7 separate regions of the Homo sapiens genome follow, and regions 1, 3, 4, 5, 6 and 7 are each linked to region 2. The links are contacts of gene promoters, found by promoter capture Hi-C in blood cells and fetal thymus (Javierre and others, 2016). All regions are on one chromosome and are shown on one strand. The core of a region is centred on a gene start or on the middle of the fragment in contact, and the rest is flanking DNA. Distances in the headings are between cores, read along the strand shown.

Region 1 (3,138 bases), core at 1-2,500, 770 kb after region 2:
GCTCGCCGTGGACAGAGCAAGTTTTATCATTCCTTCCACAGTAACTGTGTATCTGTTTAAGTAATCAAAAAGGGATCCATGCTCATGATAATCTGACACCAACCAGAGCTGAGTCCAAGTACCATTGTCTGTAAAACAGAATTAACATTTCGGTTGGGCTGCAGACCATTTATGATTTATTTGTTCAATGGTTATTACTTTTTACTCTCAATCCTGAGTCACACACTGCAATATAATGCCACCTTAAGTCTGTATTTCCTTCACATTTTCTTCTACATTGTTTGTTTTATACTTTTATGTACACATCCTTTAGTTCCTCAGAGTAAGCCCCTCTTCTTGAGATAAGGCAAGTATAATTAATCCCATTTAAGAGACAAAGATGGTGACTTTTTTGAGTCTTCACAGATAATTGGTATCAGAGCTGGCACTCTTAAGTGCCTAGAAAAATCTCTGGGTCGGGTTGGGTGCTCAGTGGCTGTTCCTGGAAGGAGAGAAGGTTAAAAAAAAGGAAGGAACAGAGAGGGAAGCAAGGAGGTGAGAAGTCTCCGGAGACCAGTGTGGCCACAGTGGGAATGGAAGAGTATGGGACAAAACTGAAAGTGAGTTTCAACAAGAAATGACAAGCTTTAGTGACAGATTGTGTACACAGTTCACAAAGACGCAAGACAAGATGATTATGATTCCAAGGTTGCTAGCTTAGAAAAACAGAAATAGTGATACCTCTAACACATGGGGAAGCTGAAATAGGAACTGAAATGTCAGGAGCAAAACTGGAAAAGCTGGGACTAAACTCAAACAACGAGGAACGTGGGTTCCAAAATTTCCTCTGTAAGCCAAAACACGAGTTTAAAACATGTTTTCTCATAGGAATAATGGTAAAGACACTAGCTAGGCTCCTAAGCTAGACTGGTCCACGACAATCTAATTTAACCTAGAAGTAGCTGGAAAACCACATGCTTAATTAAGCCATGAAGAAAAAAAGCATTACAACATTAGGAGACAGCACAATCCAGTAAAAGATGGACGCTTAGAGTCATTCTAACCTGGTTGGAATCCACGGCCTGCCTGTTACTGACAAGGAGCCTGTTTCTCCTTTTATACAAGAATAAAGTCTTACTTTGTAAGACTGTTAAGATTTAAAAAACGGAATGCTAGATTCTTTAGGTAAGAAGTACATAAACTGTGCTCTTTCTTTCCCTGCTGGTTGTAAACCAAAAGAAAAAATCCATATTGACATGAAACAGCTTCTATTTTGAAGGTATTTGGTTGAAGAAGAAAACCAACTCTGATTAGAAGAGATTAAGAAAGGAATAGAAACTTTTCAGAAGATTCTGGAGGAGATTTCTGGGTACATTTAAAAGGACTTAGTATTAATTTGTTCTTCATGAACTTTATAAACTGATTCTGACCAAACTCGCACCCTTGCTTTTCCTTGATATAGGCACATCACTAGCTTATTTGCATGCCTCTTAACCATTACTGAATTTTGAAAAGCTCACAAATACAAGAAACAAAGTGGAAGACAGGCAGATGGAAGAAAGGGAAACCACAGGTTATGGACAAGATAGAAGGAAGGTTATATGTAAGGGGCCATAAATATAAAGGGCTGCCGGGGGTGGAATTAACTAAATCAGGAGAAGATAAAGGAACTGAGGTGGAGGGGCTAGGCTCAGAGAAAGTACATTAACCCCTGACAAAGAAGAAAGAAGGGGAGTAGGGAAGAGCCAGTAGGGTCAGCTAGTTCCCATGGTGACCACCAGATGACAGCATCAGCCTGGTTAGAAGTTCAGGGCACAGACTCACCAACATTTTGTGCTGCTGTGTTTGTAACTTGGAATGTGACAAAATCCAGACCCTGGGTGAGGTTTAAGCTTTCAAATGGAGATTTGAGAGTTGCCAACATGGTAGAGTTTGAAACCATGAATGTGGCTATGTTCTTAAGGAAGAAATTACCACTTATAAAATCAGTACCTTCATATGAACCAGTGAGAAGAGTAAGAGTTGAGAAAACAAAGACAACTATGAAGAAGTAAGAAGGAACAAGGAAAGTCTAGGGTCATCAAACACAGTAAATAAAGAAAAGGTTGTTTTAAGAGTTGGGGGAGGAAATAAATGGTGATAAAGGCAGAAACGAAAATGAGAACTAAGGATTTGGTCAGACTGATTACTATTTTTTGTTTTGTTTTGTTTTGTTGTTGTTTTTTTTTTGAGACAGAGTCTCCCTGTGTCGCCCAGGCTGGAGTGCAGTGGTGCGATCTCAGCTCTGACTGCAACCTCCACCTCCCAGGTTCAAGCAATTCTCTGCCTTAGCTTCCCAAGTAGCTGGGATTATAGGCACCTGCCATCATGCCTGGCTAATTTTTTTGTATTTTTAGTAGAGATGGGGTTTCATCATCTTGGCCAGCCAGGCTGGTCTTGAACTCTTGACCTCGTGATCCACCCACCTTGGCTTCCCAAAGTGCTGGGATTACAGGCGTGAGCCACTGTGCCCGGCCTGTTTTGTTTTTAACTTAAGAGGTATTACATTGTCAGGTGCCACTGATAATCGCTACCTACATTCATCATATACCTCACTGCCCCGTCTTAATCAAACACTATACACCTCCACATATGATGCAATAGGATGTATATAATATCCTTAGTATGTATTTTGAGAAAACCAATAAAACTCCAATTAGGTTTAGCTTCTAAATCTAACTACCAGTTTTCAGAAAAGATAGAAGAACAAGTTAAGAGACACTATGGAAATGCAATCAGCAAAATCCAGAATGTGATAGGCCCTTCAGGATAAACAATCCAATTTCTTCAACAAATAAGCTGCGAGAGGAGAAAAAAGATGAAGGGGGGACCTAAATTTTAAGACACATAAGAGAAATATCAACTAAATATAACTTGTGGACTTAGAATCATAATTTGAATAAATAATTTTTTTAATAGGAGACAATTATAGAATTGAACCTAACTGGATATTTGATAACATTTAAAAAACTGACAATGGTAGTGTGGTTGTTTCATAAAAACATTTCCTCATCATTTGAAGATACAAATTACATTTTATAAGTGTTTACAGATGAAAACATATTGTCTGGGACCAGCTTCAAATAACACAGTTAGGGCAGAGTAGGTGGGATCAGACAT
Region 2 (2,902 bases), core at 395-2,894:
TGAGGAGAAACAGGATATGCGTACGGTTTAAAAGCTCCCCCCCAAGATGTCAATTATAAGGAGAAAAATAAGACCTTTACATTGGAGAATCCCAGCAGACACTCTCTACCAAGTGATCAAGATTAACCTCACGAGCAATAAGTCATATATATCAGCTATGCTCATATGATGAACTGAGAAGGGCACACACACTTTTGTGTTCTTAACAAAAATGTATAACCTTAATCTAATCATGAGAGAACACTGGACAAACCCCATTTGAGGGGCACTCTACAAAATAACTGACCAGCATTCTTCAAAAGTGTAAAGATCAGAAAGAGTATAAAGACAGAAAAAGACTATCAGTGTAAAGACAGGAAAAGACAGAGGAACTGTCACAGACTGGAGGAGACCAAGGACCCAAGACAACTAACTGCAATGTCGGGTCTTAGAGTGGATCCTAGAATAGAAAAAGGACATTAATACAGGAAAAAAAATCACAAGTTAGTAATTCAGTTAATAGTATTATACTAATATTAACTTCTTGCTTTTGATAATTGCGCTATGGTATGTAAAAAATTATTAATGGAGGCAATAGGGAACTCTGTATTACTTTTGAAACTTTTCTGTAATTTTAAAATTATTTCAAAATAAAAAAGTTTTTTAGTATAAGAGGATGTTTCACGTAAGACAGGTAAAAACATTTAGAAGTCAAAGAACTGCCATCGTATTCACTGCATTAATACTTGGAGAGAGGGGTGCCAGGACTGTGCCAGGTGCTTTACAAACTTTATCATGTAGTGCTTACAACTAATATGAGATGGGTACCATAATACTCATGTTTCCCAGTAAGTTACTTAGGAGGTTATTAATAAGTGAAAGACCCCATTTCTCAGGAAACCCAGCCCCCAAAAGTGACGAACACCTTCCATCGGCCCAGAGCTCCCACTTTTCAGGATACTAGTGGCGCCCGATTTCTTCCGGCCCGCCGCTTAATGTTTCTGACTTATGGAAGAGATACCGAATTTGGAGAGAAAAGTCAAAGTAAAGTCTCCTCTCTGAACCTCGGTTAGCTAAAAGGAGGGAGCCAAGGTGTGGGACCTTCTGCCAACCACCTCTGGGTTTGGCGAGCAGGGGCTTCCGGCCTCTCGCTCCCAGTCCTCCGAGCCTCACTACCATCGAGCGTCGCGTCATTCCTCGCAGTGTCACCCACAGCACACCTGGGCCACACACACCAAACGCCCCCACCAGCGAACGGATGCGCGGGTCTGTCCCGGGACCCAGACGCCAGCGACCCTGGCGACCCGGGGCCTACAGCGCGCCAGAGACAGGACGCGCGCCGGAAACTTTTCCACCCCGCGACCCCGGGAGGCCGTCCTGCTCGCATCGTCTGCGGCCTCCCTATACCAGCTTCCAATAAAGCTTCCAAAAACGAAACCAAGCGAGGCTCCGCCACTTCTGAAAAACAGGAGGAGCCACCATGGCGCTCGCACTTCGGATCCAATGCCCTACTTGCCGCCCAGCGCCTCTTGCGCGCGCCACACGGGCGCCAGGCCCACCAAGCCTGTGAGGGCCCGACGCCCCCAAAGGCGGCCTCCAGAGAGCCCCTTACCTCCCGCCGGGGCGCTCGAGGCCGGTCGGTGGGCACGGCGCAGGCGCAGGAGCGACGGGGCGGGGCATCACGAGGGGTGGGCAGGGTTGGGCCCCGCCCCCGCCCCCGCCCCCGCCCCGCAGGGCCCCCAGGCCGGGCGCTGGGGGCGCACAGGTGAGTACAAATGCGGACGCTGCTGAGAACAGCGAAAGCCTTTTTCAAAAGTGATATTGATTTACGTTATGGGGTTGTGACTCGAGCCAAGAGGAGAGAGACGCACAAACGCTCTTTAGGTCTGCTTGTTGTGTTTAAGACAATTCATGCTTGTATGGCCGACTGCATTTCGCAGTTTTCCTGTCCGTTTTCCTCTGTTCTTCCTAGAATTTTATTTGCGGGTTGGGCATGTATTCTTAGCTCTGTTTTGAAACTGAAGCTCAGAAAGGTGGTGCCTCCCCATCCCGTCCCCAAAAGCCCTGTGAAGTGGACAGGGCAGGAGTGCCATCTTAATTGCAACAGGTGTAAAAATTAAAGCTCAGCAAATTGTGGTTTCCTCCAAAAACTGGTGGAGGGCTTAAGGCAAACGTCTTTATCCCGATTTTATAGATTATGACTCTGGGGTTTAACAAAGAGTTTTAAGTGACTCACTCCAGTTCAGCCAGCTTATGGCAGAGCTGGAACTCCAACTGGGTGTCCTAATTTCCTTCCCAAGTTATTCCAGTTAGACCAGCTGCAACCACATGAACAAGCAGGTGGCCGGCTTTGAAGCCTTGTCCAAGTCACAGGTCCTCCTCTCTTCATGGCCTAACTTCCAGATCCAGCCCTTTTAAAAAGATGTCTGTGAATATTCAGATGACGTGCTTAGAATGTATTCACTAATGGCATTGTCTCAGAAGTGATCAGGATGTTCAAACCACAGTTAAGGAAACTGAGTTCTTAGGGTCTTCCAGTAGAGTAGGAGGTAAACAGGGAAGATTAGGGGCCTGTAGATCCTTTAAAAAGCCTTGAAAGACAATTTCTAAAACAAAGCACCAAATCTACCAAGCAATTTGGATTTTCTTTGGGGACATAATGTATACTGATATTTGTTTTACAATGAGCTCCAGAATGTATTTATCAAATTTTGATTCTAAGGAGAAAAATTAAAGTATTAGGCAATACTGTGAGAAAATGTTTTTTATGCAAGGATCAGTGAAATAAGATCTTTTGAAATAAAAGATCATTTGTGTTAAGTTCTGAAAAAGCTTCCTCAGGTACAAAATCAGGAGGTGTGGTACTCAAAGATTCTAAATTTGGACCTGGACTTCTAAGTTGTTATATGTATGTTTGCTGTAA
Region 3 (3,118 bases), core at 543-3,042, 800 kb after region 2:
TCAAAAATCCATTGTTTCCTCTAATGCAGGCCCACGTGAAGGGACTCAACAATGTGCTAAGAGTCGGAATGAAGCCTATCTGATACTCAAATCATGAGGACAGAATCCAAAGTGGATAATAAAGACCAATTGCTCATCAGACGACTGAAGAAGAAAAATGGGCTACGCCAGATAGTATGATGTATACATATTTATATATATATATGACATACAGGTTTGGGAAACTGAGATCTGAGTGAAAATCCTAGCTTTAGCACTTAAGTTATTGGGTACTTAACGTGTCTGTACCCCACTTTGCACATCTGTAAAGTGGGGCAAATGCCACTACTCCTGGGAGTTTACTTGTGGTGATTAAATAATGTAATTATACAATAGTGTATGCATTTACATCGTAGTAATGCACAATACATAGACGGTAGCTATTAGGACTGATTATAATCGTCACCGTCAGTCTTGATTTTTTAAAAAAATTTCAACATCTTTTGTCCAGTTTCAGAAACAGAAATGTACTTTCACTGCATTTTAGTTGCTAACACTGAGGCTGTGTATTTTAGCTTCTAGTGTCTCAGTTCAGCTGCTAACGAAGTTTTTCACTCATCCCTTTGTGGATACCAACCACCTACCCCAACCTGATTTACTATTTTGAAAAATCCAGCCAACAGTCTTCCTTGAAAACCAGCTATACAGATGTCTGAATCAAACTATTAACTGTCACTCAAGAAAAGGAACAACGTGAGTGATGTTCCTTCGAGGAAATAAAAAGCGTTTAATCAATTCACAGTCGTTCCCAAAATTTCCAAAACCCGCAGAATGAGCAAACGTTCAAGTTTCCACTATGAAAACAATCCGTAGCCGTCTGGTTACTGGACTCACTTCAACACTCCCCAGACGCACGAAAGAAGAAACATTCCGCGCATCTCCGCGCTTCCTTCTTCTCACACAAAGCCCCCCTGGCTGGAGGAGCAGCCCCTTCCAGCAGGGTCGGCTCGGGTCGAGCCGGGCGGGAGTCAGGGCGGCCTGCGGACCCAGGGGTCTCACCACACGTCGCCCCCGACTCCCACTGGACGAAGCCCTAGAGGCTCGGAGCTCACACCCCGCCCGGGAGCCGCCTTCCACCCCAACCTCAAACCCCGCCCCGGGTTCGGCAGCCTCTGGCACGGACCCTCTTGGGGCGGGGGTCCCCAGAACAAGGTCACGCCGTGCCCAGGGGGCGGCGGCGGGCAGCCACGGCTCTGCCAGTCCCCGCCGGCCTCGCACTCTCCGCCCCTGGCCCTCGCCCACTCACACCCCAGAGGGCAGCCCCGGACCTCGGACGACTCCGCCCGACTCCACCTCCCCGGGGAGTCCCGAGCGGGGCGGCCTCGGGCAGCCGGACACGTCCGCCCGCGCCCGGACACACGCCCCTGCCCCGCCTCCGCTCCCCGCTTGCGGTTCGCCCGGCAGCCGCCGAGCCGCGCGGCGCCACGAGAGCCCGGCCCGGGCCCCGGCGCCGCCACCTGCGCCCCCGGCCCCGCGCCATGTTTGAGAAAGAGCAGGAGCGAGCCAGAGGCCGGGTCCGGCCCGCGCGCCCCGCAGTCGCCCGCCCGCCGCGCCGCCGCTCACCCGTCGCCCCCGGGAGCAGCGCCGCCGCCGCCGCCGCCGCCGCCGCCAGCACGAGGAGGAGCAGCCGGGGACGCGGAGCAGCGACCGCCGCCTCCATGGTCCCGCCGCCACCGCCTGTGGCCCGGCCCGGCCCGGCCGCGCCGCTGCCTCACCCCAGCAAACCTCGCCTCGCCCCACCTCCCTAGCCGCCGCGGCGGCCTCGCTCCGGCCCTTTGTAACTGCTCGGAGGACGCGCGTCCATTGGCTGCCGGGCTCCCGCCGGCCCCGCCTCCCCGCCGCCGCGAGCTGCCAAGCGGGACCCAGCCGGGAGCCCCGCCTGCGGGCCCGCCAGGCAGCCAATCCGCAGCCGCGAGCGCCGGTTTCTGGCCACGCCCCACGCTCCCCGGGGGCTGGGCCGCCAGACCCCAGCCCCGGCCCGATCGGCTCCCGGCTCCGAGAGGCCGCGTGGGGGCGGGGTCTGCCAGCCCCAGCACCGCTCAGCCGCTAGCCCCGGAGGGCCGGGTAGAGCGATGGGTGTGTCTGTGTGAGTCTCTTTCGGAAAAAGGCTGTGGCCGTTCGACGCTCTTTTCTTCTAACCTCCTCTAGGCGCGGAAGATCTGGTACTGCCTCAGCCCCACCCTGACCCCATTCACAGCTCCGCATTGGCAATCCCAGCACATGCCACCCAGATCCGCTGCAGCGCCAGGCCCCTGCATCCACTTCAACTTCCCCTCTCCAAGTCCACGCATCAACTTCAGCATTCCCCCGAAGATCCCTCCTCAGTGCCCTTCACATGCGACTCACTCTCCTATTTCCTCCTGCTCCCAGCGGTCACCCCAAACCCAGCTCCCCCACCCAGTTCCAAACCCAGAAAGTCCTCAGATCCCAGCGTCAGACCCAGATCCTGAGCCCAAACACACCCCCAAATAGCCTCCCGCCTCCCTCCAGCACAGATCCAGGATGGGGATCCAAGCCGCACTCCTCTCAAACCCCTTCCCGATCCAGGTTGGAAAGGGAGGATCCCCACCCCAACCCCTCAAAGGAGGGGTTCCCCCTTCTTAGCACCCAGCTCCCGCGGGGCGGAGGGGGAGCAGTCATCATTACTTTGAGCTGTGTCTGACACTGCTGTATAATAATCCTGAGGTGTCACTAAAAACCCAAATAAACTCTACGTTTTCATTCTGAATTCCTAATTTACTGCGAGACGCTCCACCCACCTTCCCTCTGCGACGCCAAAATGAGCTCCAGATTTGTAATTCTTCCTGTCAGACTAGTCCTTTCTTCAGACACAAACACAGCCAAGGAGGCTGTTACGTAGAACAGAGAATATTTTTCCGCAGAACCTTTTAAGGAGGAAATTTTATTTTCTGTGTCATTTGAGCTTAGAATTAAATAAACCTTGATAGCAGGAATCAGAATGGTTCTGATTAATGCCAATTTGTGCACTACTTTAGAGTCACTGGGTGAGCATTTTCCCCACCTGTGAAGGCTTCCTTCCGGGAGATGAAAAGGGAAAAGGCGTGGATATTGGAGCTGG
Region 4 (3,066 bases), core at 481-2,980, 730 kb after region 2:
AATAAATCTGAACAAATTAAATATTTAATTTTTTTTTGAGACAGGGTCTTGCTTTCCCATCCAGGCTGGAGTGCAGTGGTACAATCCTAGCTCACTGCAGCCTCAGTCTCCAGTATTCAAGCAATCCTCCCACCTCAGCTCCTGAGTAGCTAAGACTACAGGCACGTGCCACCAAGGCCGGCAAATGTTTCTACTTTTTTTGTAGAGGTGGGATCTTACTATGTTTTCCAGGCTGGTCTCAAACTCCTGGCCTCAAGGAATTCTCCCACTTCAACCTCCAAAAGTGCTGGGATTTTAGGAGTGAGCCACTGTGGCTCACCTGAACAAATTAAGTGTTTATAAACATGTACAAACTGCACTGCTGTCATAGGAATGAAGTTCAAGGTGAATCTCACAAGGTTCCCCTCGAGGATAAGCAGAACTCTTACTCCCTGATACTCAAAATAAAATACCCCACTCTTCTGAATAGCTCCCAGACACTATGTCCCCCTTGTAAACAGAACCGCTCCCTCCAAGCCCAGAGGTCAACTTCTTGAATATGTCATGCCATTTCTTCACTCTCCTCCCCGGGTTGCTTATCAGATGCTCTGTGCATCATCTCCTGCATCCCGTAGCCAAATAAACCAGTCAGTGCTCAATTCTCCAATTGACTGGATGGCTCAGGGAACAAACCCTCAAATCTGATTACAGGAAAATTCATTACTTTAAGTCCTCCCTCAGGGTTCAGAGCTCATAAAAGAAACCTCCAGAGGCCCAGGCCGAGGGGAAGAGAAGCTCCTATGCTGCACATCTACAGATTGCCAATAATTAACCTGAACTAATTATTGTTGAGCCCCAGGTCAGTCTTCCCAGATCAAGGCTCCCCTGACAACTGAGTTTTCAGAGCCAGAACTTTTCACTCAGACACAAAAGGAACATTCAGCAGATTTTAATAAAAAAGAGCATGACTCACATAGGATCCTCTGCTAGACAGAGACCCAGCCGGTTGGAGGCTCACTGGCAGGGACACGATTCAGGGCCCCCAGAGAGACACCTGTGTGAGGACTCTCTTCCTGGCCCTGTTTACAACCCTCTTAGGATTTTTGAACAAATAAGACCACACATCTCAACACATAAAGACAAACAGCAAGTTAGGAAAAATATGTACATTCTGTTCATAATATTAAAAGCTGACATGAAAAAATAAGACAAAAATGAATATTCCAAAGGAAAAAATAGTAAATTATAAGGAAAAATAATTCACCGTGGAAACAATAGCTAATCTGTATAATCAACATAGTTTCATTTCATGTTCAGTCTCACTCTAGTAATTTTTAAAAGTCAGTGAGATAGTATTTTGTTTTCTGGCCGGGCACAGTGCCTCATGCCTGTAATCCCAGCACTTTGGGAGGCCAAGGTGGGCAGATCACCTGAGCTCAGGAGTTCAAGACCAGCCTGGCCAACGTGGTGAAACTCCAGCTCTACTACAAATACAAAAATTAGCTGGGCATGGTGGCACACGCCTGTAGTCCCAGCTACTCAGGAGGCTGAGGCAGGAGAGTCACTTGAACCTGGAAGGGGGAGGTTGCAGTGAGCCAAGATCATGCCACTGCACTCTAGCCTGGGCAACAGAGCAAGACTCTGTCTCAAAAAGCAAAACAAAAACAAACAAAAAACCCATTTTGTTTTCTGAGATTGGTAAAATGTTTTGAGCTGGGCTTTTTTTAGTGCTAACGTTCATATTCATAAGGGTAGTGAAATTGAGCGCTATTATACACTGTTGTTTGGAGTATAAAGTCATAAATCAGTGCAATTCTGAGAAGGTAATTTGGCAATAGATAACAAAAACCTTAAAATATGCATATTCTTTAAACTTTTATCTTAAGAACTTTATCCTTAGGGCAGTGGTTCTCAAGCAGGGGCAACTGTGCTGCCCAAGGGACATTTGGCAATGTAGAGACATTGATTGTCAGCAAGTTGGGGAAGGGGTGCTGCTGGCATCTAGTGATGCAGGCCAGGGAGGCTGTTACCCATCTCATGGTACACAGGACATCCCCCCAGAATAAGAATTATTGTCACTCTTGAGAAACCCTGCTTTAGGAGAAAACACTCAGGCAAGTTGACAGGGGTATACAGCCAAAGATATTCAGTGAAGAATTGTTTAGAAAGCTAAAAAATGAGAAGCAGTGTGCATCACTAAGTTACCAATTAAATAAATCATATGCCATGCATACACTAGACCATCATAGATCCATTAAAAATTGAATACACTCCAGCCTGGAAGACAGAGCGAGACTCTGCCTCAAAAAAAAATTAAATAAATCTGTTTATTGATGGGAATATATTCATTCTATAGTGCTAATTGAGAATAACTAGTTTCAGAATCATATGCCTAGTAGGATCATCTTTTTGTATGTGCATATGTATGTATAGAGAAAAATCTGAAGGTGTTTATCTACCATGTTACACCTTTAACAGTAGTTTTCACTAGGTGGAAACGTTATGGGTCATTTTAAATTTTTTTTTTTTTTTTTTTTAAGATGGAGTCTCACTCTTGTTGCTCAGGCTGGAGTGAAACGGCATGATCTCGGCTCACTGCAACCTCTGCCTCCCGGGTTCAAGTGATTCTCCTGCCTCAGCCTCCCAAGTAGCTGGGATTACAGGCATGCACCATCACACCCTGCTAATTTTTTTTGTATTTTTAGTAGAGATGGGGTTTCACCATGTTGGCCAGGCTGGTCTCGAACTCCTGACCTCATGTGATCCACCTGCCTCAGCCTCCCAAAGTGCTGGGATTACAGGCGGGAGCCATCACGCTCAGCCCATTTTAATTTTTTGTGTTAGTTTTTCAGTGTTTTCTATTTTTCTTTTATTAGCACGGCTAATGAAGGCCTTCTAACGCAGAGTTGAAGATCAAGGACATTAGAATCAGACACCAAGCATTCTGGCTGGGTCCTGTCTCAGCTCTGAGAAAAGCTGCATCCTTGCATGGCAGCCATCATCTGAAACTGTCCTTCACCCAGAGGCACCCCAATTCCCATAAAGTCACCCCATGGCAAGATGTCAGCATGTCCATTTTTTTTTTCT
Region 5 (2,921 bases), core at 314-2,813, 710 kb after region 2:
TAGTAATAATAGCAGATGGTAATAAAGGAATATGTTCTTACTCTTAGGCAATCATCTTACTCTACTTGGGCTGTGATAACAAAATACCATAGACTGAGTGGCTTAAACAACATACATTTATTTCTCACAGTTCTAGGAACTGGAGGTCCTAAGTCAGGGTGCCAGCATAGTTGAACTTGGGTGAGGGCCCTCTTCCTGAAAGCTGTAGTCTCAGCTTGCAGACAGCTTTGCCTTTTTACTGTGTCCTCACACAACAGAGAGAGAAAGAGCACAAAAGCTCTCTGGTATCTCTTCTTACAAGGGCACTAATCCCATTGTGAGGGCTCCACCCTTGTGACCTCATCTAAACCTAATTACCCCCAAGTGCCCCATGTCCAAATATCACATTTGGGGTTAGGGCTTCAACGTGTGAATTTGAGGGGGACACAATTCAATCCATAGCAGAGATTTCCGTTGAAATATATAGGGATGAAGAATCATGATGTCTGAAAATTACTTTCAAATTATTTTGAAAATAAAAAGAGAAATAGAGATATAAGGTAAATATGGAAAAATGTGAAAGTAGATAATAGGCTTATGGAAACTGGTTAGCTTGATTTACTCACTTTTGTGTTTCTCTTCATCCACTCACTACTTCCCTCCCAGATCCATTCTTTGATCTGCCTGGCCGATGGTGGATGCTCAATATGTCTGTTGAATTAATATTAAAAATAAAGTTCTCCTTACCTGCTAATATCTGCATGACTAAGTAGAGACATAGTTTTAAGCCATTTTCAAAAAATACCCACAATGAATTACTTAAGTAAACATGATTTGCTTAAAGTCACAGTTTAACCTTGCTTTTTTCCTCCCAGCGTTAAGTATCAGATGAAAGGGTGCTTGCTCTCTGTCCCCAGATGCCCCAGGCTGTCCCTCCAGACTGCAGGAGGCCAAGCTCCCTTTTTCTTTCCCTGTGTGCCTTCTGCCCTCACTCAGAGTCCCTACCACCTCAAAACCTTGGGAGCAAACCACGTGGGCAAAAGCAATTTAACGGAAGACAGTACAAATGTTGTACACTTTGAAAATTTTTTTAAAAGAACTGGCAAGATAAAACATTTAATTGCAAGTAACTTGTAAAAATAAAAGTAGTAAAAGTAATAAAAAAAATTACCCAAGAGGCAGAGCTACAAAGAGACTGTAGCTCATTGTTTGAGAATGAATTAGACCTTTATAAAACTCTGAACATTTCCAGATTCTTTAATTGTTATAACGCACCTTTTATTACTTTTCTCTTATTCCTATTGCTTTAGGTCCTTTCAGATTTTTTTTCTATGATAATGGTAATAGACGTTACTACTGAGTGAGTGCCTACTGTGTACCAGGCACAGTTTAGCCCTCACAAGACTATGAGGTGGGTATCCCCATTTTATAGATGAAGAAATTGAGGCTCAAAGAGGATAAGTCACTTGCTTATGATCACACCACTAGAAAGGATAGAACTGGACTCAGACCTCCACATCTGCTCACCTCAAAACCTCAGACTCTACACTACTTCCCGTAAGTGTGTTCCTCTACAAAAACAGCTTCTGTCACATAGTCCCCTATTGTTGGTCCATTATATTGCTTCCAGCTTGTATTTGTTTTTCATTGTTGCTGTAAAGAATTAGCAACAATTAACACAATTAACTTTAGTGGCTTAAAACAACATGCATTCTCTTACAGTTCTGGGAGTCAGATGCCTACAATGAGTCTTCTGAGGCTGAAATCAAGGTGTCGGCAAGGATGGTTCCTTCTGAGAGAGGATCTAGAAAGAATCTGTTTCTTGCCTCTTGTAGCCCCTAGAGGCCGCCTGTATTCCTTGGCCTATGGCTACATGACTCAGTTCTCTGCTTCCATCGCCTCCCCTCCCTGCAACTCCTGTCTTCCTCTTATAAATACTCCTGTGATTATATTGCGCCCACCCAGATATTAATAATTCAGGATAATCTCCCCATGTCAAGATCCTTAATTTAGTTGCATCTGCAAAGTCACTTTTACCATGGAATGAAACATTCATAGGTTCCAGGGATTAGGACATGGGCATCCTTAGGGGACCATTATTCGGTTCAACATACAACTTTTTGACCCAAAGTGCAGAGTAGGAGTCACTGACTCTCCCATGAGTCATTCTCACCCCACATTTCAGGCTTCCATCAGGGATGGGCTCTTGCCTGCTCTGACACTTAACAATGATCTTGGATACTAACCAATCCCATTGCCTGCTAGTTTCCTCCAAACACAGTGGAGGCTTGTTTTTAAGCCACTAAAGTTAATTGTGTTAATTGTGGCTAATTTGTTACAGCAACAATGATGATCAATTCAGTATCAGGCTGTCCTATTTCAGATTCTCCTGAATCACCCCCCAACACACACACACACACACACACACACACACACACACACACACACACACACACATTTTATTTCATCCTTCTCTAGAAGAGATGTATTGAAAATAATACCCCCTACCTTCTCAACGTTGTGAAACTCAAAAGTCAGCAGCAGCTTGGAGGTCTCCAGGTCCTGAGCGCCTCTCTGTTGCCATAATATTTAAGTGGAGTGACTTTAACCCTAAATCCATATGTGATGGGAAAGAGAGAATCTTCCTAATATCACTGAAGATCTTCAGGGCTAAGGGATTTCCATTTTTCTTAGTCACATAAATGTTCGCTTTTCTACTTTTCAATTCCAGTAACATGCAACAACTGCCCTTTTCCCTTAACTCTTCAGCACATATCGAACACCCAATTCCTTCAACCTCCAAAGCACCATCAGTGCAAGCAGAGTGTGTATAGTGGTATCTAAGTTCATTCCTGTTGCTATAACAAAATACTTTAGACGGGGTAATTTATAAACAACAGAAATTCATTGCTCACAATTCTGGAGGCTGGGAAATCCAAGAT
Region 6 (2,810 bases), core at 70-2,569, 900 kb after region 2:
CTTCTTTCTCTCAAGGACTTTCACATCTATGGTTTCATAAATCCAGGGATGGGAAAGACTGCCCAGGCACCTATGTCTGGTGTTTGATTCCCAGTATTGGTTTGCACCTCCATTAACACGGAAATCACTGCTCCTGAGTCAGCCTGGTCTAGCTCTAGATACTTCTACTGAAACCCATTGCCTCCCTGTGACCTCCCCATGTACCCATCCAGAAGGCATTAGACAATGTCTTTGCCCATGAAGATGCTTCAGAAATGTGTAGGCAGCACCTCTGTCCTCCTCAGCCTTCTCTAGGCTGGGAGACAGAGACATTCCTGCTTCTTCTCTCTCCCTGTGACTCAGTTTCCTTTGGGAATGCACAGGCAGATTCTCTGAAGGTTTCATAGCAATGGGAGAAATGGAAAGAGAGAGCAGCTTTGGGGCTGGTGACAGCAAACTATGTTCTATCTTCATTTCCCAAAGCTTGTTTATTTATTGCAAAAATGTGGTTCTTTTGGTTACAAAAAACACCAGGCTAATCAAAGTTAAAAAGATTTCCTTGCTGCAGGATTTCTCAGAATCTATAAAAAGAGGAATGTAGAGTGCAGCATTTCCCAAAGTCATTTGACCACAGAGCCCCTTTTTCATAAAATATATTAAATCCTTGCAGAATTACTGTCTCAAAAAACAGTTAGAGGAAAGTTGAGGTCCCAGGATGTTAAAATGAGACTCTTTCTAACTCAGCGTCAGCTAAAGCCCCAAAGGGCAAGTGCAATTTCACAGGCATCAGGTAATCTCCCCATGCTAAAACAAGGAAATGGCACCCGTTCTACCAGCTCCTGCCCATCTCCTACCTCTAGGCTGTGTAAGAAACCATACAGGACTCATTTTGGGGTTGAGTGCCTGGAGAGCAAGAATTCCTTTGGAAAGAATTTTCAGTGTACTGCGGTTCTTCTCCTCCCCTCTACTCACTCCAAACCATTTGGTGAGCTGGGTATGTATTTCCTGGAATTTGGGAGGCTCAGGGACTGGTGTCTGATTTTCTCCAGGGAGACAAAAGGTGAAAGGAGGGAGCCCTTTAGATTCAGAGTTGGGAGAGAGGGACAAAGGAAGAGAGGGGAAGGGGAGAGGAGAGGAGGGGGAGGTGAGGGAGAAAGAGAAAAGGAGGGAAGTGGGAAGAGGAGGGGAGGGGAGAAAAGGGGAGAGGAGAGGAGAGGAGAGGAAGGGAGGGAATAAAAGGAGAGAGGAGGGAAGGAGGAGGTGAGAGGGAAAGGGGAGAGGAGGGGAGGGGGATGGAGAAGGGAGGGGTATTTGTCCTGCAGTTGTTTTGCTGGAGATAGACAAGATAAAATCTCTCCAAAGGGAGCTGGCTGAAATGGGCTGTACTCAAAGAGCCACGCAGAAGATCTGGGCAACCTGTATGGGGTGGAAGCCCGGGCAGAAGTTACAAGGCAAACTATGGAATTTTGATCCTAGGTCCCCTGCAGGAAGACCTCCCAGGAACCACAAAAGCCCCCATAAGAGAGAGTTCCAACAATCAGGCATCTTCCACACCAAAAGCCCAGATCACAATTTGACCAGCCAAGTACAACTGTGTCCATTTCTCCAGGTGGGCCAGCCCCTGCAGATGTTAAAAATAGCTCTAGAGGATGGGGAGATCATGAGGATAAGGAGGAGAGAGAAGTAAGAAAATAGAGAGGAAACCCCTAACCATGCTTCCCTTTCCTGGCAGTTTCCTAGTCTACAGTAGGCCTGAGTATAGAAGGGGGGAAACTGTGTTTGTAATTTTGTTGAATTTTTGATATTATGCTGGGCTTGACTTTTAAATATCTGTGAAAATTGACTGTTACCAGATAGTGACTGAGAGAGCTGTGAGAACTGTCTTAAGTTTTCATCCCAGGAGAAGGGAAGGAATGAGCTGGCGTTGTGGGTTTTCAGCAGGGGCCATTGTGAGAAAACTATTTATGCTTTAATTTTGCACCCTAGGGAGCCCAGCATTTCAAAAACTGGCTTTGCAGGTGTAAAAGCCAATTACCAAACAATAGCATGAACACACCTGCAGTTAATCTGATTCTGTCTTGAAGGGGACTCAAAGGGCTGATAAAGCTATGTGCCTTCACAACTGAGCAGGAGGGCGGGGTTGCATTGGTGAGGCCTGGACGCTCGCTCATCACAGGCAAGTGTGAGGACAAGCTTGCACTGCATATCCCCCACCAGTCCTGTGCATCCCTGGAGAGCCTCTGTGGCCCTGGGACTCTGACCTCCTCTGTACCATGAGGACAGAAGCAATCTTGATGCTATTCAACCAAAACCCTTGTGGTTCTCTCTGGTGCTCAGTAAAATCATCACCAAGTTTGAAATAAGCAAACAAGCCTACTACTGACTAATCAAATGAAATTTACCATCTACTCACCTTTTCTTCAGCAATGTCAAGGAAGGCCCCAGCCCCTGAGCCGCTGTCAGTAATGGGGTCACCATCCACAGAATGAACCCCCTCCAGTGTGTCATTCAGGATCTCACCAGACCCTACAGGAAGCAGGCATTCTGCTATCAATAACTACATTTTGCAGTCTTGGAAAAGAATGAGGTATCTCTTCACCAGCTAACTTGGAAAGATGTTCAGATACCATGACACAGGGTCAAGAGGGGGAAAAAACAAGTTGCAGAACAACATACATGGCAAAGCATGTGTGGTTTCCATTCCAGGCTCTGGCACCACCTGCAGGCAAGTCGCTCAACTTCTGCCTCAAGTTCCTTATCTAGAAATGGGGAATTACAATAATTCCTACCTCATAGGGTTGTTTTGAGTACTGTGTGTCACAAGGACTAAG
Region 7 (2,700 bases), core at 200-2,699, 780 kb after region 2:
ATTATCACTGAAGTTAAAATACAGAAACACATTTAAAATGGAATTAGACCTAAAGCTATTTTTTTCTACTGCAAAACCTAAACATCATCTGTCACATGGAATAATTGTATTCATTTGAATTTTGTTTTTTTTTGTAGTTGTCTTTGTATTTAATTTGCAGATTTGGTTTATAGTGGTGTATGAGCCAAGAACATAAGGGTTTTATATCTAGTTTCATGTCTACAGAATTTAAGTAACATTATGAAAAATACACTCTGTACTTCTCCTTTCAAAGAGGTCATTACATTACGGTAAATTTGAAAAAGTCAGTACTAAAGGGTTTTTCTTAACTACTCTTTCAATCAGAAGAGGTCACTAGACAAATAAAAACATCAAGATAACACAAAGCTTAACTAGGTAAAGATTTCTCTCTTCAGGGAATTAAAAAATTCCATTTCACCACTTGAAGTCAGTCTTGATTGACTACAAGACTGCTGTTATGTGATACGGCAAGATCGTTTAGGGAAAAACTAAAATAAGAACTTAATTTTTTCCATGAACATGAGTTTTAATTGCCATTTTTTTAAAAAATTCAAATTTATTTTATTAATAGATAGATTTGGCCCCTGGATACTGCCCCCCCCAACCTTTTATTCAACTAGGTTTTAAATTTTTAAACGCATATACATGGCAAAATTTCAATCTAAAAAACGTAAACGAAGACACCTCCTTCCGCCAGCCCAAAGCCCAAGTTCTCCTCACTCTGCAACACATCACCTTGACTCTTTCATTTAATTCTGCAATTATTCACTAAGCATCTCTATATGCCAGGTACAGTGTGGGCTATGAGGTGCAGAGATGAGTAAGACAAGGTATTTGCACTTGAGTAGTTCACTAGGGTGGAAGGGAAAGGCATTAAACAGATAATTAAAATCCTGAGTCCTGAGAAGAATGATCAAAGTGTTTCTACTCTGCTGCGGTAGAAGAGATTATCAAGAAAAGCTTCACCAGCATTCAAGTCAGAACTTGGAGAATATGTACAATTTGTTAGATAGATAAGGGTGAGAAAGCTTTCCTGACTGGGTTTTCTTTCTCAGTGGCAGGATTTCATCCTTAGTGGCTGGCATACCAAGTAAGATGATCAAATTTAAATTGTTCAAGATGCTAACTACGATGTTTTATTTCATCAGGAAAATAAACATAATACCTCTCTGACCTATTTCATCATCTGAGCTAATCAAATGAGATACTGTACTTTATTAACACATTTGGAAACGAACATAAATGATTATATAAACACACAGAATTATCCCATATGATAAATGGCATTGTGCCAATGTGGTTTTTATTCGTAGGCCACCAAAGGTAAACTTCTTCCCAAAAGTAGTGACAAAATTCCACTGTAGAATCCCAGACTAACAGAACCACATGAAACTTTGAATATCATCTAGGCAATTCAGTTCTGTCATTTTATTAATGTAGAAACCAAAACTTAAGAAAAGCAAAACAATTTTAAAAATTTTAAAAAGAAAACCAAAAAACCAAAATGATTTATACAAATATTCTACCCAGATTACAGGCGGATGTGAATCCTCACTATATTATCACCAGCCCACGAGTGAAACCTACGCAACTATTTGCTATACCACTATCCCCATGCTAAGTAACCCTGAACTTTAAAGACTCCCAGGTGGACCTGATTTGGTTTAGACTCCTACAGTTTTGACTCTTCTGCTTGATAGCAAAAATAAGAACCAAATCCCCTGTTTAGGACCTTTCTACTACACTGTCCAACTTTGTTTCCATGCCCCAGTCTTTAACAGTGGGCATAGCTTTCTTAATCTTGAGATGCACATTTCTCTAAGCTTTACATTTCTAAAATCTGAATACAATTTACAATCAAAGTAAAAAGAAAACTCCAGCCTCCAGACTGAAAGGTTAAGACATGATGGGTTGTTGTAACCTATGTATGTGCAAACTTGGCTATACATAGAAAAGATTACAAGTTGAGTATCCCTCATGCAAAATGCTCAGGACCAGAAGTGTTTTGGATTTGGGATTTTTTTCAGATTTTGGAATATTTGCATATACATAATGAGACATCTTGGGAATGGGACCCAAGTCTAAGTATAAAATTCATTCATGTTTCATATATGCTTTATATATATAGTCTGAAGGTAATTTAATATAATATTTGAAATAATTTTGAGCATGAAACAAAGGTCATGTTAAGTACTTATGTGCAGAATTTTCCACTTGTGGCATCATGTTGGTGTGCTCAAAAGGTTTTGAATTTCAGATTGGGATGTTTGACTTGTATTCACTTCACCATCACTGTAATTATTTGTCTTGATAGCTCCCTTGCAACTATAACTTAGGTTAAACAAGGATTTCAGTGTGATTCAGCACTAAAAGGAAAAGCTACTGTGTACACAGAAAATTATATCAGAACCATGCCAGGAAATACAATTACTAGCAGTGAAATTTCCAAATATTGCAGAATAAATCAGAATTTTCAAAGTTTGCAGATGTTAGCATGGTGACAGTTAGTACCAAAGGAAGTGACATGAGGAAAAAGAGACAACAGGACCCTTGGGGTTATTATTCATGGTATTATAGTATCGGGGTAACAACTCTCGGGGTAACATATCCCAAGTTGAGATCTTGGCTCTTGGTCCCAATATAAAGGATTTCCTTGGTTGCCTCATTTCAGTACGTCTC

The links. The method cuts DNA at HindIII sites, captures the fragments that hold promoters and counts their contacts. A CHiCAGO score of 5 or more calls a contact.
Region 1: a contact is called between a fragment that was not itself captured here and the fragment with the promoter of STX17 in region 2, in 1 of 17 cell types (fetal thymus). The highest score is 6.2, in fetal thymus.
Region 3: a contact is called between the fragment with the promoter of TGFBR1 here and the fragment with the promoter of STX17 in region 2, in 1 of 17 cell types (fetal thymus). The highest score is 8.3, in fetal thymus.
Region 4: a fragment that was not itself captured here is called in contact with the fragment with the promoter of STX17 in region 2 in 4 of 17 cell types (M1 macrophages, total B cells, naive B cells and 1 more); the score reaches 9.5 in M1 macrophages.
Region 5: a contact is called between a fragment that was not itself captured here and the fragment with the promoter of STX17 in region 2, in 1 of 17 cell types (total B cells). The highest score is 5.3, in total B cells.
Region 6: a contact is called between a fragment that was not itself captured here and the fragment with the promoter of STX17 in region 2, in 1 of 17 cell types (fetal thymus). The highest score is 6.0, in fetal thymus.
Region 7: a fragment that was not itself captured here is called in contact with the fragment with the promoter of STX17 in region 2 in 2 of 17 cell types (fetal thymus and M2 macrophages); the score reaches 6.3 in fetal thymus.

The regions. Positions count from the first base shown.
Region 1 is chr9:99,139,526-99,142,663 of GRCh38, reverse strand. It overlaps TGFBR1 (transforming growth factor beta receptor 1), which reads right to left. Exons shown (of 9, transcript NM_004612.4): 5 at 1-128. Among named protein-coding and RNA genes, the nearest start is that of TGFBR1, 36 kb to the right of the region's middle. The HindIII fragment of the contact is 1,247 bases long and covers 627-1,873 here.
Region 2 is chr9:99,905,396-99,908,297 of GRCh38, reverse strand. STX17 (syntaxin 17) reads right to left here and starts at 1,644. Exons shown (of 8, transcript NM_017919.3): 1 at 1,592-1,644. STX17-DT (STX17 divergent transcript) reads left to right here and starts at 1,697. Exons shown (of 3, transcript NR_038853.1): 1 at 1,697-1,744. RefSeq lists an enhancer at 1,106-1,345 and a silencer at 1,506-1,905. The HindIII fragment of the contact is 1,410 bases long and covers 1,404-2,813 here.
Region 3 is chr9:99,103,787-99,106,904 of GRCh38, reverse strand. TGFBR1 (transforming growth factor beta receptor 1) reads right to left here and starts at 1,792. Exons shown (of 9, transcript NM_004612.4): 1 at 1,603-1,792. The coding sequence starts at 1,699. RefSeq lists silencers at 1,065-1,574, 1,665-2,264. The HindIII fragment of the contact is 12,693 bases long and covers 1-3,118 here.
Region 4 is chr9:99,174,516-99,177,581 of GRCh38, reverse strand. No RefSeq gene overlaps it. Among named protein-coding and RNA genes, the nearest start is that of ALG2, 46 kb to the left of the region's middle. The HindIII fragment of the contact is 4,738 bases long and covers 1-3,066 here.
Region 5 is chr9:99,192,217-99,195,137 of GRCh38, reverse strand. No RefSeq gene overlaps it. Among named protein-coding and RNA genes, the nearest start is that of ALG2, 28 kb to the left of the region's middle. The HindIII fragment of the contact is 3,582 bases long and covers 1-2,921 here.
Region 6 is chr9:99,000,534-99,003,343 of GRCh38, reverse strand. It overlaps COL15A1 (collagen type XV alpha 1 chain), which reads right to left. Exons shown (of 42, transcript NM_001855.5): 7 at 2,393-2,505. Among named protein-coding and RNA genes, the nearest start is that of COL15A1-AS1, 57 kb to the right of the region's middle. The HindIII fragment of the contact is 1,710 bases long and covers 465-2,174 here.
Region 7 is chr9:99,122,448-99,125,147 of GRCh38, reverse strand. The region is part of intron 1 of TGFBR1 (transforming growth factor beta receptor 1); the gene reads right to left. Among named protein-coding and RNA genes, the nearest start is that of TGFBR1, 19 kb to the right of the region's middle. The HindIII fragment of the contact is 795 bases long and covers 1,052-1,846 here.